Linked DNA regions of Homo sapiens: region 1 is linked to region 2. The links are contacts of gene promoters, found by promoter capture Hi-C in human tissues and cell types (Jung and others, 2019). All regions are on one chromosome and are shown on one strand. Each heading gives the region's core, a stretch centred on a gene start or on the middle of the fragment in contact. The rest is flanking DNA. Distances are from core to core; before and after follow the strand shown. Region 1 overlaps CFAP161 (cilia and flagella associated protein 161). Region 2 holds the start of STARD5 (StAR related lipid transfer domain containing 5).

What was found. Contacts are between HindIII fragments. The study calls those that stand out against the background at their distance.
Region 1: a fragment that was not itself captured here is called in contact with the fragment with the promoter of STARD5 in region 2 in 1 of the 25 tissues and cell types used here (lymphoblastoid cells).

The regions. Positions count from the first base shown.
Region 1 is chr15:81,146,761-81,152,250 of GRCh38, forward strand. CFAP161 (cilia and flagella associated protein 161) reads left to right here. Exons shown (of 7, transcript NM_173528.4): 6 at 1,098-1,171; 7 at 1,578-2,419. The coding sequence ends at 1,773. Among named protein-coding and RNA genes, the nearest start is that of CFAP161, 15 kb to the left of the region's middle. The HindIII fragment of the contact is 7,252 bases long and covers 1-5,490 here.
Region 2 is chr15:81,321,841-81,327,611 of GRCh38, forward strand. STARD5 (StAR related lipid transfer domain containing 5) reads right to left here and starts at 2,301. Exons shown (of 6, transcript NM_181900.3): 1 at 2,161-2,301; 2 at 1,059-1,108; 3 at 568-700. The coding sequence starts at 2,259. It overlaps TMC3-AS1 (TMC3 antisense RNA 1), which reads left to right and starts at 2,493. Exons shown (of 7, transcript NR_120365.1): 1 at 2,493-2,721. RefSeq lists a silencer at 2,793-2,842. The HindIII fragment of the contact is 12,739 bases long and covers 1-5,771 here.

The sequences.
Region 1 (5,490 bases), core at 2,165-4,664, 170 kb before region 2:
GGGAAAGTCAGGCTGGGAATGGGGTCATGCAAACCTGCCTCCCATTTTGCTCTTAAATAGGATAGCTACAAATATATATATATATATATATATATATATATATATATATATATATATATATATTTAAAAAGCTACATACATCCCTCACAATTTGCCCACAAGGAAATTCCTTGTGGGAAGATCTTTACCTTAAAACAGTTATGTGGAATGTTACCCTGACAATGTAAAGTGGTAGCTTATCTTCACAGTGTGGGACAAAGGACAGAACTAAAAAGTCATCCTTCCTCTCACCTGAGACAAAGGCATATATGAATGCTCCCTCTGCCCTGTGTTTATTTCATCTTACGTAAAAATGCAGATTCACCGAGCACAAGACGAATGCATAAGTAACTATTCCTCTACCGCCCTCTCACATGTAAAATGTGTATTTGGTGAACACTGACTGAAAACTCAAAAGAACGCAACTGCTTGCCTCTTTTATTTACCCTCCTTTTTTGGTTGTTGTTGTTCTTTCTTTCTTCCTCTCCCCCCCAGTACCCGCTCTTTTCACTTTAAATATTGAGGTCCCCGGACCCTCTTCGGGAAAAAGCATGGACCACCGATTTTTCCTGTTGGCCTGTGTTCTTTTTGGTGGACGCATCTTTGACCTTGGCAAATAAACCTCTTAAAATAATTGAGACTCGCCTCAATAATTTTCTTTGATTTATACATCATAAATGTACTTACACAAACCCAGATGGCATAGCCTACTACACACCAAGGCTACACGGGATAGCCTCGTGTTCCTAGGTGTACAAACCTGTAAGGATGTTACTATACTGAATACTGTAGGTAACTGTAACACAGTGGTAAGTATTTGTGCATCTAAACACAGAAAAGGTACAGTCAAAATAGGGTCTTACGGTCGCATAGGTGGTCCTTTGCCAAATGAAATGTTGTGAAGTGGCACATGACTGTGAATATATATAATTTTTTTCTACTAAATTGAAATAAATGTATAGTATAATCCCAAATTTTTGCTTTTAGGTAAGCTTTTCCCTAAAAGCAAAAAAAAAAATGTTTAGAATGCTAATAACACATTTTCTTTATCTGTTAAGGCAAATGCTAAAATTCTCATCAATCACTGTCACACAAATCGGGGACTGGCAGCCCACCGGCATCTTTTCTTAAGGTATTGTATTTCAGGGTACAACAAAATGCTGTGATTGGGGCTGGGGGCCATGAATATAAGCAAAGAAGCTCAATTGATAGTGTATGGCTGCACATACAAAAAATGTCCTTTGCTGATGAAATACCGCCACATAGAACTTCAATGGTGTGAAAAATCCTATTAGAGCCCCTTCTTTTATACAAATCCTACCCCTACAAGAGGACTTTGGTTCTAATGGGATCCTACTGGCCTAATCTTTGCCCAAATAAGGTGTAACCTCCCTGCAAACATGTCCCATTTTAGAGATTCCCTAGGGCTTTATCTAGCAATCCGCTTCTTAAGGTGCTTTCGAGATTAAATTATTAATAACAGCTTATTGAGAGTTGTTATTCAATTTCAAACCACAACTGATTCTCTCTTGCTCCAGCACCTATTTTGGAAAGGAGGCTGAGGTTGTAGCTCACACATACCTGGATTCACATAGAGTTGAGAAACCAAGGAACCACTGGATGTTGGTTACTGGGAATCCCAGGGATGCCTCGTCCTCCATGTTGGATCTGCCCAAACCACCCACAGAGGACACTCGAGCCATGGAGCAGGCCATGGGCCTTGACACGCAGTAACACGCCAGGCACGTGCATGTTTTCCCTGGTCCCGCTCTCATCAAATGTAGCTTTAAAAGAAATTAACAACCTTGGTCATGCCTCAAGCTATTTTTGAATCAGATGTGGGACTCTCTGGGCACTATATTAAAATAAAGATTACATTAAGATTATTGAATTTGTGGTGGGAGTCTAGGGCTGAAGAAAAACAGCTCTGGAGAATAATTAGTATTTGAAAGTGACAAACAATAGCCTTTTGTTGATAAACAAATTCTGAAGAACTCAGCTTCCTCTACTTATATCCTTCATTGTCTACAAGGACAGTGCGTTACTTTTTAAAGTTATGTCTATGTAATAAAGCTGTTGGACCTATACTGAATTTTTGGTACCACAGTTTCCCTCTTGAATGTACTAAAACACAAAAAACTGACAGCTCTGAGCTGTGGCCTTACCTTGGAATTAAACATTTCCACCTTTGTAAAACATCCTATTTTTGTTTCTACCTTTGGCTTTCCAGGTCAGGACCTCTACCTGATCAGTAACCTATTATTTTGTAATGATTTTTAAGCTGCAGAATCTCTACCTTGTCTTTGAAACTGGCACATTAGTTGTGGCACCCATGTGATTAGATAGTTCCTGACAAAATAAATGTATGTCCTTCCATGTATTTGTTCATCTGTTCATTCCTCATTGAGTGCCTGTGATGTGTAGGGTATTATAAAGGGATGTAGGGTTTCCAAGTCTTATAGATACAGGTAAACAGGCCGGTTCACAAATATGTATACTGAGAGGTAGAACATGGGCTGTAAATGTGTTTTAAATAGATGCAGTTTCAGTCAATGCAGACTGACCCTCTTCAAGAAGGCAAGCATTTTCCATCAAGTACTGCAGGATTTAGGGCAGTGGTTCCAGCCTTGGCTATGCGTTGCATTCACTCTGGGAACTGTAACAATTACTGATTCCTGGTCTGAGCCCAGAAATTCTGATTGAATGGTCTGGGGTACAGCCTGGGCACTGGGCTTTGTCAGTGTTCTTTAGATGGTTCCCATGTGCAGCCACAGCGAAGACCCACTGTGTTAGGAGGTGGAGGAGGAAGCAGTGGTTCCTTAGGGTGGTCAGAGGAGGCTTTCCTCAGCAAGTCTCTCTGGCTGCACATTAGAATCTCCTGAAGAATACTGAAAAGCCCGCGGCCCAGGCTGCACTCTGGACCATTCAATCAGCATTTCTAGGGTAGGACATTAAAAAAATACAGATGCTTGGGCCCACCCCAGAGCTTCTTATTTTATTTGAAGTGGAACCCAGGTATTCGTATTTTTAAAAACTCACTAATTTATTTGATTTAAATTTAATTAAAAATTTTAAAAACATTTTTAATTTTTAATTTTTGTGGGTACGTAGTAGGTGTATATATTATGCGGTACATGAGATTTTTATTTTATTTTTTTTTTTTTTGAGATGGGGTTTTGCTCTTGTTGCCCAGGGTGGAGTGCAATGGCACTATCTCCGCTCAACACAACCTCCGCCTCCTGGGTTCAAGCGATTCTTCTGCCTCAGCCTCCCGAGTAGCTGGGATTATAGGCATGCACCACCACGCCTGGCTAATTTTGTAGTTTTAGTAGAGATGAGATTTCTCCATGTTGGTCAGGCTGGTCTCGAACTCCTGACCTCAGGTAATCCACCCACCTCCCAAAGTGCTGGGATTACAGACGTGAGCCACCGCACCTAGCCATGAGATGTTTTGATACAGGCATGCAATGTGAAATAATCACATTATGGAGAATGGGGTATCTGTTCCCTCAAGCATTTATCCTGTGTGTTACAAACAATTCAATTACACTCTTTTAGTTATTTTTAAATGTACAATTAAGTTATTGACTATAGTCACCTGTTGTGCTATCAAATAGTAGGTCTTATTCATTCCTTGTAACTATTCTTTTTTGTGCCAATTAACCAACCCCACCTCCCTCTCAGGTCCCTAGTACCCTTTCCAGCCTGTGGTAACCATCCTTCTACTCTCTATGTCCATGAGTTCAATCGTTTTGATTTTTAGATCCCACAAATAAGTGAGAACATGTGATGTAAAACTTGCTAATTTATTTTAATGTGCAGTCTGGGTTGAGAACCTCTGGCTTAGCTGAGAGTTAGGTCTGCCTGTGTGTCTCCAAGGGGTGAGACCAGGTGGGTTTGGGCTTCAGCTGGGGAAAGACATTCTTTAACAGTGTGAGCCACCTGAAAGCATCTAAACCAATTTCAGTGCATTCTTGCTCCTACCGTAAGATATCCACGGAAAGCTTCAGACAACATCAGGGCTCTTGATCCTTTCCTAAGTGATCCTCCAATGGCTTCTTGACTGAACACCGAGAGGTTTCCACCAGATGGAAAGTCTTGACTATGAGTTTTCCAGGTTTTTGGCACGTTGAACAAAGAATTGAACAAAGTGCACAAACAGAGCAACACAAAATGCACAAAGTGACAAAAGAATGAAGCAACGCCATAAGCAATACAAGCACAGATTTATTTAAGTGAAAGTACACTCTATAAAGCACAAGCAGGCTTGGGCAAGAGGCTCAAGAGCCCCGATTACAATGTTTGTTAGGGTTTAAACTAAGCTAGAAGAATTTTGGTAACACCCCTTGGTGCCCTGTGGAGGGTTACACCTTATGAATAATTGGCCCACGACCAATCAGAGGCTGAAGTGGAGACTTGGCCCATGACCAATCAGAGGCGGAAGTGGAGACTGCCCGCAGCCAATTAGAGGCTGAAGTAGAAACTTGTTGTCTTGTTATCACAGGAGTGAGGTTGTGGCCTCTATGCTGCCTAATCTTGCCTAGAACCAAGGACTGGTGCCATATCAAGGGCTCAGTGTTGGTCACTGCTGCTGGTAAATTGGGCACTTGACCTGTAGCCAGGTCAGCCTTGGTGAGTGGAAGTCCATGTTGCTGAGCCCATGCCTTAACCCTTGGTTACCCTAACTCCCTATTCTGTCTCAGTTTTAGTGTAACCAGGAATTAGTGCCACCGACCAAGTTCGCACTCAGGTAATCAGTGACTGACTACAGTGACTGCTGGGGGCGTGACTGCCGCCTGGCTGACGGTGATTGTGAAGCACTTCATTTTAATGTACACAGACAGAGTTCAGAGACGTTAAAAGATGGAAAAGAGAAGTCTGTACTTCTCAGAATAGAAGAAAGACAATAAATAACTAGAAAGTGAGCACCTACATGCATCACCTCGTGTTATTTACAAATCAGTATTTCTACCTTGGGTCTGTTGTGCACCTCAAAATTATAAAGGGCTTTTATACTCATTTTCTTATTTAATTTTCACTACTCTCTGGGGTTAGACCAGGTCTTGTTCTTTGCTGTTTATCTCCATTTCCTGGGAAATATCTGTTAAGTGAATGAATGAATGAATCAACAGATGAATGGATCCGTAACTTTTACAGAGGAGCCAGGCTTAGAGATTTGTTCAGGGACACAGCTCCTAAACAGCAGAGCTGGGGCAGGACCAAGTCAGATTCTTCTATCCCTTCTTCTGGACAAGGGCCTTCTAATCTAATTTTTTTTCTAATTCTTTGTTGTGGTTGCTTTCCTGTGCATTATAAGATGTTTGCCAGCATCCCTGGCCTCTGCTCACTAGATGAAGTAGCACCCCTCCACTCATGACAACACAAAGCGTCTCTAAACATTGCTAAATGTCCCTGGGAGGGGTCTGCTATTTAAGGACCAATAGTCTAGAC
Region 2 (5,771 bases), core at 1,051-3,550:
TATTATTTAGACACATCTAAAAGAATGATGTCATTGCTTTGTTCAAAACTGAGATTTACATGTCAAAAATGACATGCTTTGCAACTTATGAAAATTTAGTTGTAAACTAAATGTTATTAATAGACATCAACTGGATGTGTGAGGATGATGCATAATTTCTCAAAAATCTGTTGGATGCATGTAAGCAAAAAGCGTGAAGACCCTCATACCAGAGGGTAACTGGGGTCATGCAGGTACGTGGAGCTGCTACTGGCCCAGGCTTCAGGGAAGTGGGTGCCAGGGGCTGAGGATCCTGTGTTGCCTAGTGCAGCAGCCCCACACAAGGAACAGGTATGCTCCCCGCAGAGACTCTGTTTGGGGCTTCTCTCCCTCTCTGAGTCATGAGGTTTCCCACCGGGAAACTGGGCTGAGGCAGGCCTCCAATGCTGCAAGCAGTGGGCAGCCTGTGCTTGCAGGACACACCCCCTTAACAAAAGGTATCACGGACCCCTTCCAGAAGAAATGGGAGGGGGTTACTATAGCCTGGCCCAGACACTATCTAGAGATAACATGCTTGGAAAGACTTACGTCAGTGATGCTTTGGATAATTTCAAAACCGGTCACATTCTCATCCCACTTCACTCGTAGGCCTCCAACAGCTGGCTTCACACAGTCCCACACCTCCTCTAGTGTCCCATATACAATGCCTTCTCCTCGGTACCTGGAGCACGAAAAGGAATTTGACCCCAACGCATCAATCAAACTTGTTATCTTGAGATTGTATCTAAGGACTAGAAGGTGGACCATGCCATGTCTGTCACTACTCTTTAGGACAGACTTGCAGAGAAGGGGCTGAAAGTCACTAGCCCCGCCTCCCTTCAGGCCTGCAGAAATGGACAGTAAGCTTTCACAAGAATACAGTTTGCTGGAAATGATTTCATTAAAAACAGTAAGGCTTTTCTGGAGGACAAGTGATCACAGGTTATAGGGTTGATTTGAATATTTTAGGAGGCAGGCCCATAAAGATACCAGGAAGGGTGCGGCACCTCTGGTAATCTTTGAACGAGGCATGCACTTACAGGTTCCCTGGAAACTCCACAGATGGCCTCCAGGAAACTGAAACTCCATTCTGTCAAAAGGCACAGAACCACAGAATTTTAGAGCTAGAAGGGCTCTGGTCACCTGGCTTAATCCCCTGTTCTACAGAAGAGGGGTAAGAGGCCTCAAGAGATACGACTCTCCAAGGCTGTGCAACCCATACGTGGAAAAGCTGGGACTAGTCTTGGGCAAAGCTGTCCCCACAGCAGAATGTGATGAAGAAAAAGATCTTAACTGGCTGACTCCAAGAGCCGTGGGTGGTTTTTAAAATTATCTTAAAAGCCACCAGGCATTCTGTTTCCTTGAGCAACCCAGGGCTACTTAATGAAAAGTCAGAAGGGTCAAGCAAAACTACTCCCATGCTACCCTCTGGCAACGACAAAGAGAGGGGTTCATGCTGTAATGAAAAGTCAGAAGGGTCAAGCAAAACTACTCCCATGCTACCCTCTGGCAACGACAAAGAGAGGGGTTCATGCTGTAATGAAAAGTCAGAAGGGTCAAGCAAAACTACTCCCATGTTACCCTCTGGCAACGACAAAGAGAGGGGTTCATGCTGTAATGAAAAGTCAGAAGGGTCAAGCAAAACTACTCCCATGCTACCCTCTGGCAACGACAAAGAGAGGGGTTCATGCTGTAATGAACACAGAAGAAAACCTTAGTATGCATCAGATGCTGGATCAGACTTTACTGGATTTAAACAACATGTAAAAACCTCCTTAGCTGCGACCACATTCTTTCATTTTGTTTTGTTTTTAAACACCTGCTTACCCCTTAAATGCAATTTATTTACTTTTACCACTGTCACAGAAACATCCAGTCCTAAACAGCATTCAACAGCCAGGTGACCTTGGGCAAGTCACTGAGTGAAAGGAACAGATACTTACCACCTGAAGTCATTGTGAGCATAACAGGCCCAATCTTTTTTTTAAAGAAGAAAACAATCCCCATTGGAATCCCTCTCAATCGGGTCCAGGGGATTGGGGAGCAGAAAACAACGGGGAGAGGAGGCGCTTGGGGGCTTCTGGGGACCCGGGCTCCACGAAGCCGTCTCCGCGACCCCTTCCCGCCCAGCTCCTCACTCACGCCTTCCCGGCAAATCTTCCAGCCTGCTGTGTCCCGCCGGTACTGGAGCATCTTCTCGGCCACAGCCTCGCTCATCTGGGCTGCCAGCGCCGGGTCCATTGCGTCGGGAGCTGCGCTTAGCTGCGGGGTCGCGGGTGTTATGAGCGGCGGCGCTGGATCCCGGGTGCCTGGAGGCTGGAGCTCTGGGAGGAGCTCGTAGCCCCGCCTCTTTCCGCGCCCCCGCTCCCGAATTGGTCCAGGCCCTCAGACGGATCCCGCCTCCCGGAGATTGGCAGGACAAGGAGACCGCGGGGCCAGGCTCTCCAGTTAGCGTCAGCGCCTGGGCGGGTCCCGGACGCCTTGGGCGGGCCGGGTAAGGTCCAGCCGTATCCGCCTCCTTCATGTCCCGCTGTGGGAGGGGCTCTGGAGCGCCGGGACTGTGAGATGGCCAATGACGGTCTGACCCGTTGGGCCGGGCCAGGTCGCGGACAACGTCGACCGTTTGTTTAAGAAGCGTGGACTCTTGTCCTGAGTGCACCGAGGCTTTCAGCCTGCGGGACAGTGGTGCGATTTGCATTAGAGGTAATATGCTAGGGCGGCTGCTGCAGGGTGGGAGAGGAAATGCGCGTGGAGACTGGGCGCGTGCAATGGTGGGAGAGGTGTGTGGCAGGGGTGCGGGGAGTGGGGGTGAAGAGAAGAGGACCCATCGTAGAGTGTTTAGGAGATGGAAGGTGAAGGTCTCTGCCCCCGATTGTGGATGTTCAGAAGGAGAAAGCATCATGACTCCCAGCCTTGGCCACCTGGCAGCTTACCTGAGATGGAGAAGAGATAGGGTGAGTTCAGTTCTGGGCATATTTAGTTGGAGGTGCCTGAAGGGCCTTTAGTGCAGGTGTCCAGGAGTCAATGCAATGCGCTGACATCTGCGAGAGGCCCGGCTTTATTAGAGATATGGGAGTTCTCTGCTTCCAGCTGCCCTGGAGCTGCGGGGAGTGAGCCAGGGTCGCATCTTCACAGCGTGAATGGCAAGGACAGCCTCGGTTTCCCCTCTTCTGCGCTATCACCAACTAAATATTTGAAAAGGTTAATACTGAGGTCTATTTCTTATCTTTCTTTTTTATGTACTTATTGTTTCCTTTAAACTTTCGATATAAATGTTTGGAAGAGTAGTGTAAACAAATTGACAACTTGAAAGACCTTTTTGGAAGATGTGAAGGGCAGCCAGGCTGTGAAGAAGACCTGGATGGGGAATTAGGGAGCTCAAGATCTAAACCCAGTTTCACTCATTATTCTTTGAGCTTCAGTTTACTCCAAGGTGAAATGGGATACATCATAAATGTTCCTGGCGGGGTCCGGTGGCTCACGCCTGTAATCCCAGCACTTTGGGAGGCTGAGGCAGGAGATCACTTGAACCTAGGAGTTCGAGACCAGCCTGAGCAGCATGGCGAGACTCCGTCTCTACTAAAAATTCAAAAATTAGCCGGGCATGGTGGCGCGGGGCTGTAATCCCAGCTACTTGGGGGGGCTGAGGTGGGAGGATCGCTTCAACCCGGGAGGCAGAGGCAGCAGTGAACCGTGATCGCGCCACTGCACTCCAGCCTGGGCTGCAGAGCAAGATCCTGTCTCAAAAAGTAATAAAAATAAACAAACAAACAAATAAATGTTCCCTATGCCCTTGTGAAGAGAGAGGGAAGTAACGCATGTAAATACTCTTAGGACCCATAAAAGAAAAGACTAGTAAATTAATCCCATTAAAAAATTAAGCACATCAAAATTTCATAAAAAGTTAGATAATATGAGAAAAAAATCGGGACACACTTTAACACATAAGTTTTCTTATCGAACCAAGGGCTCATACAAATCATTAAGCAATTTTCAGACAACCCCATAAACAAAAAGAATGCATTAGACATGGAAAGATACTTTGTGGAAAAATTAATTGACATGGCTAACAAAGCTATAAAAAGATGCAGAACCTCACTCATTGTTAGGGAATTAAAAATTAAAGCAAGGAGAGGCTTTTCTTAAAACCTATTGATGGACAAACATGAAGTTTGTTTATACCCTGTGTTGGTGAGGGTATGGAGAAATAGTTGTTACACAGCGGATGAGAGTACAAATGTATGCAACCTCCTGGGAACAGAATAACAACATATATTAAAATTTTACTCTACTTGTTCTTTGATCCAGTGACTCTTCCTGCACAAAGATGCATAAAATTAATCTTGCAACTGGAAGTAACCTATTTACCAGTATATTAACCAAAGTTATAGAACATCCACTTAGTGGAATATTATGTAGCCATCAAAATAACCTAGCCCAGATGGTGGAAAGTGGGGATGGAGTAGACCCCCTGCAGGACTATAGTAGCACTATTTTGCTCCTAGGAAATGGGAACGTCTGGATATACAAAATATTTGGAGAAGCAAACTGTCCCCGAGGCCTGTGACAAACTGGAAGTAGGAGATTGGTGAGGTCAGGGCAGCCTTCAAGCAGAACACTCATTTATTTTATCACCGGAGGCCGGCACAGGGCAGAGTGAGCAGATGATTGGAACAGAGGGAAGGTGAGAGCTGCCCACACAGTGTTTGCCAGGGGCCTGGGACAGAAATCTATTTTGTAGTCTGTCTGAGGCTGCAGTTTGGAGCTGAAGGGGATGGAGGAATGACTGAGCTCTGGAGATTCCACTGATCAGAGCCCTTCCCACAAGGTCCTGAGAGGGCTCTGAGTCACCCAGTTGTCCACCAGACTTCATCAAAGTCCCAGGTGAATACAATTAATAGGTGTATATGGGAGCAGGTAGCCCAGTAGCTTCTAACTCAACACCACCACTAGACAGACTATAGAGGGGATGGGCCCAAGTGTCCACATGCTCCAGTCTTACAAGGCCCTGAATAGAGTGGAGTATCTGCTTTCCACTTAGACACTGATGAAGAATTGCATGCATATTTACTAAGTTAGCTTGGGCAGGTGCTATGTGAATCTACAAATGTAAGCACGTCGGTATGTTTATTGCTTACTCAGCAATAGCTAATCGTTACTCAGCACTTACTTCTTGCTAGCCACTATCCTAAGCACTTTACCTGTTTTGGGCCATTTAACTTAACAATACCGCAGCACCATGAGATAGAGACTACTACTCCCATTTTGCAAGTTAAGAAAGTGAAGATCATGTAGGGTATCCAAGGCCACATAGCTGGGAAGTGGCAGAGCTGTGGCAAACATACGATTTCTATTTCCAAAGGCCAAATGTTTACTCATATGCTTTGCTGTCTACTACATCCTATGAGCATATGTAGTGTTAAGTGTGAAACGTGCAAAGATAAAAGAAAACAACAACCTGCAAACCCTAAAAAGAAGGAAAACACACACACAGAGTAGCTGGAAGATACTACCTTAGGCTAGGGAAGTTAGTCTTTTAGAGATGTGCAGAAAACTTTGCTCTAAGTTTCCTGGAGCTCATGAATTCTGAGACAAAAGGAGTGACTAAAGGAAGCAATCTGAGGTTACCAAGATATTTACTGAACTACTCTTATCAAAAGGAATTCACTCTTTAATGGATATAACAGTCTGATCTTTGAGACTTGAGAGGAGTTTGTTATGTAGGTGTTTTAGGAGAGATTTTAATAATGCTG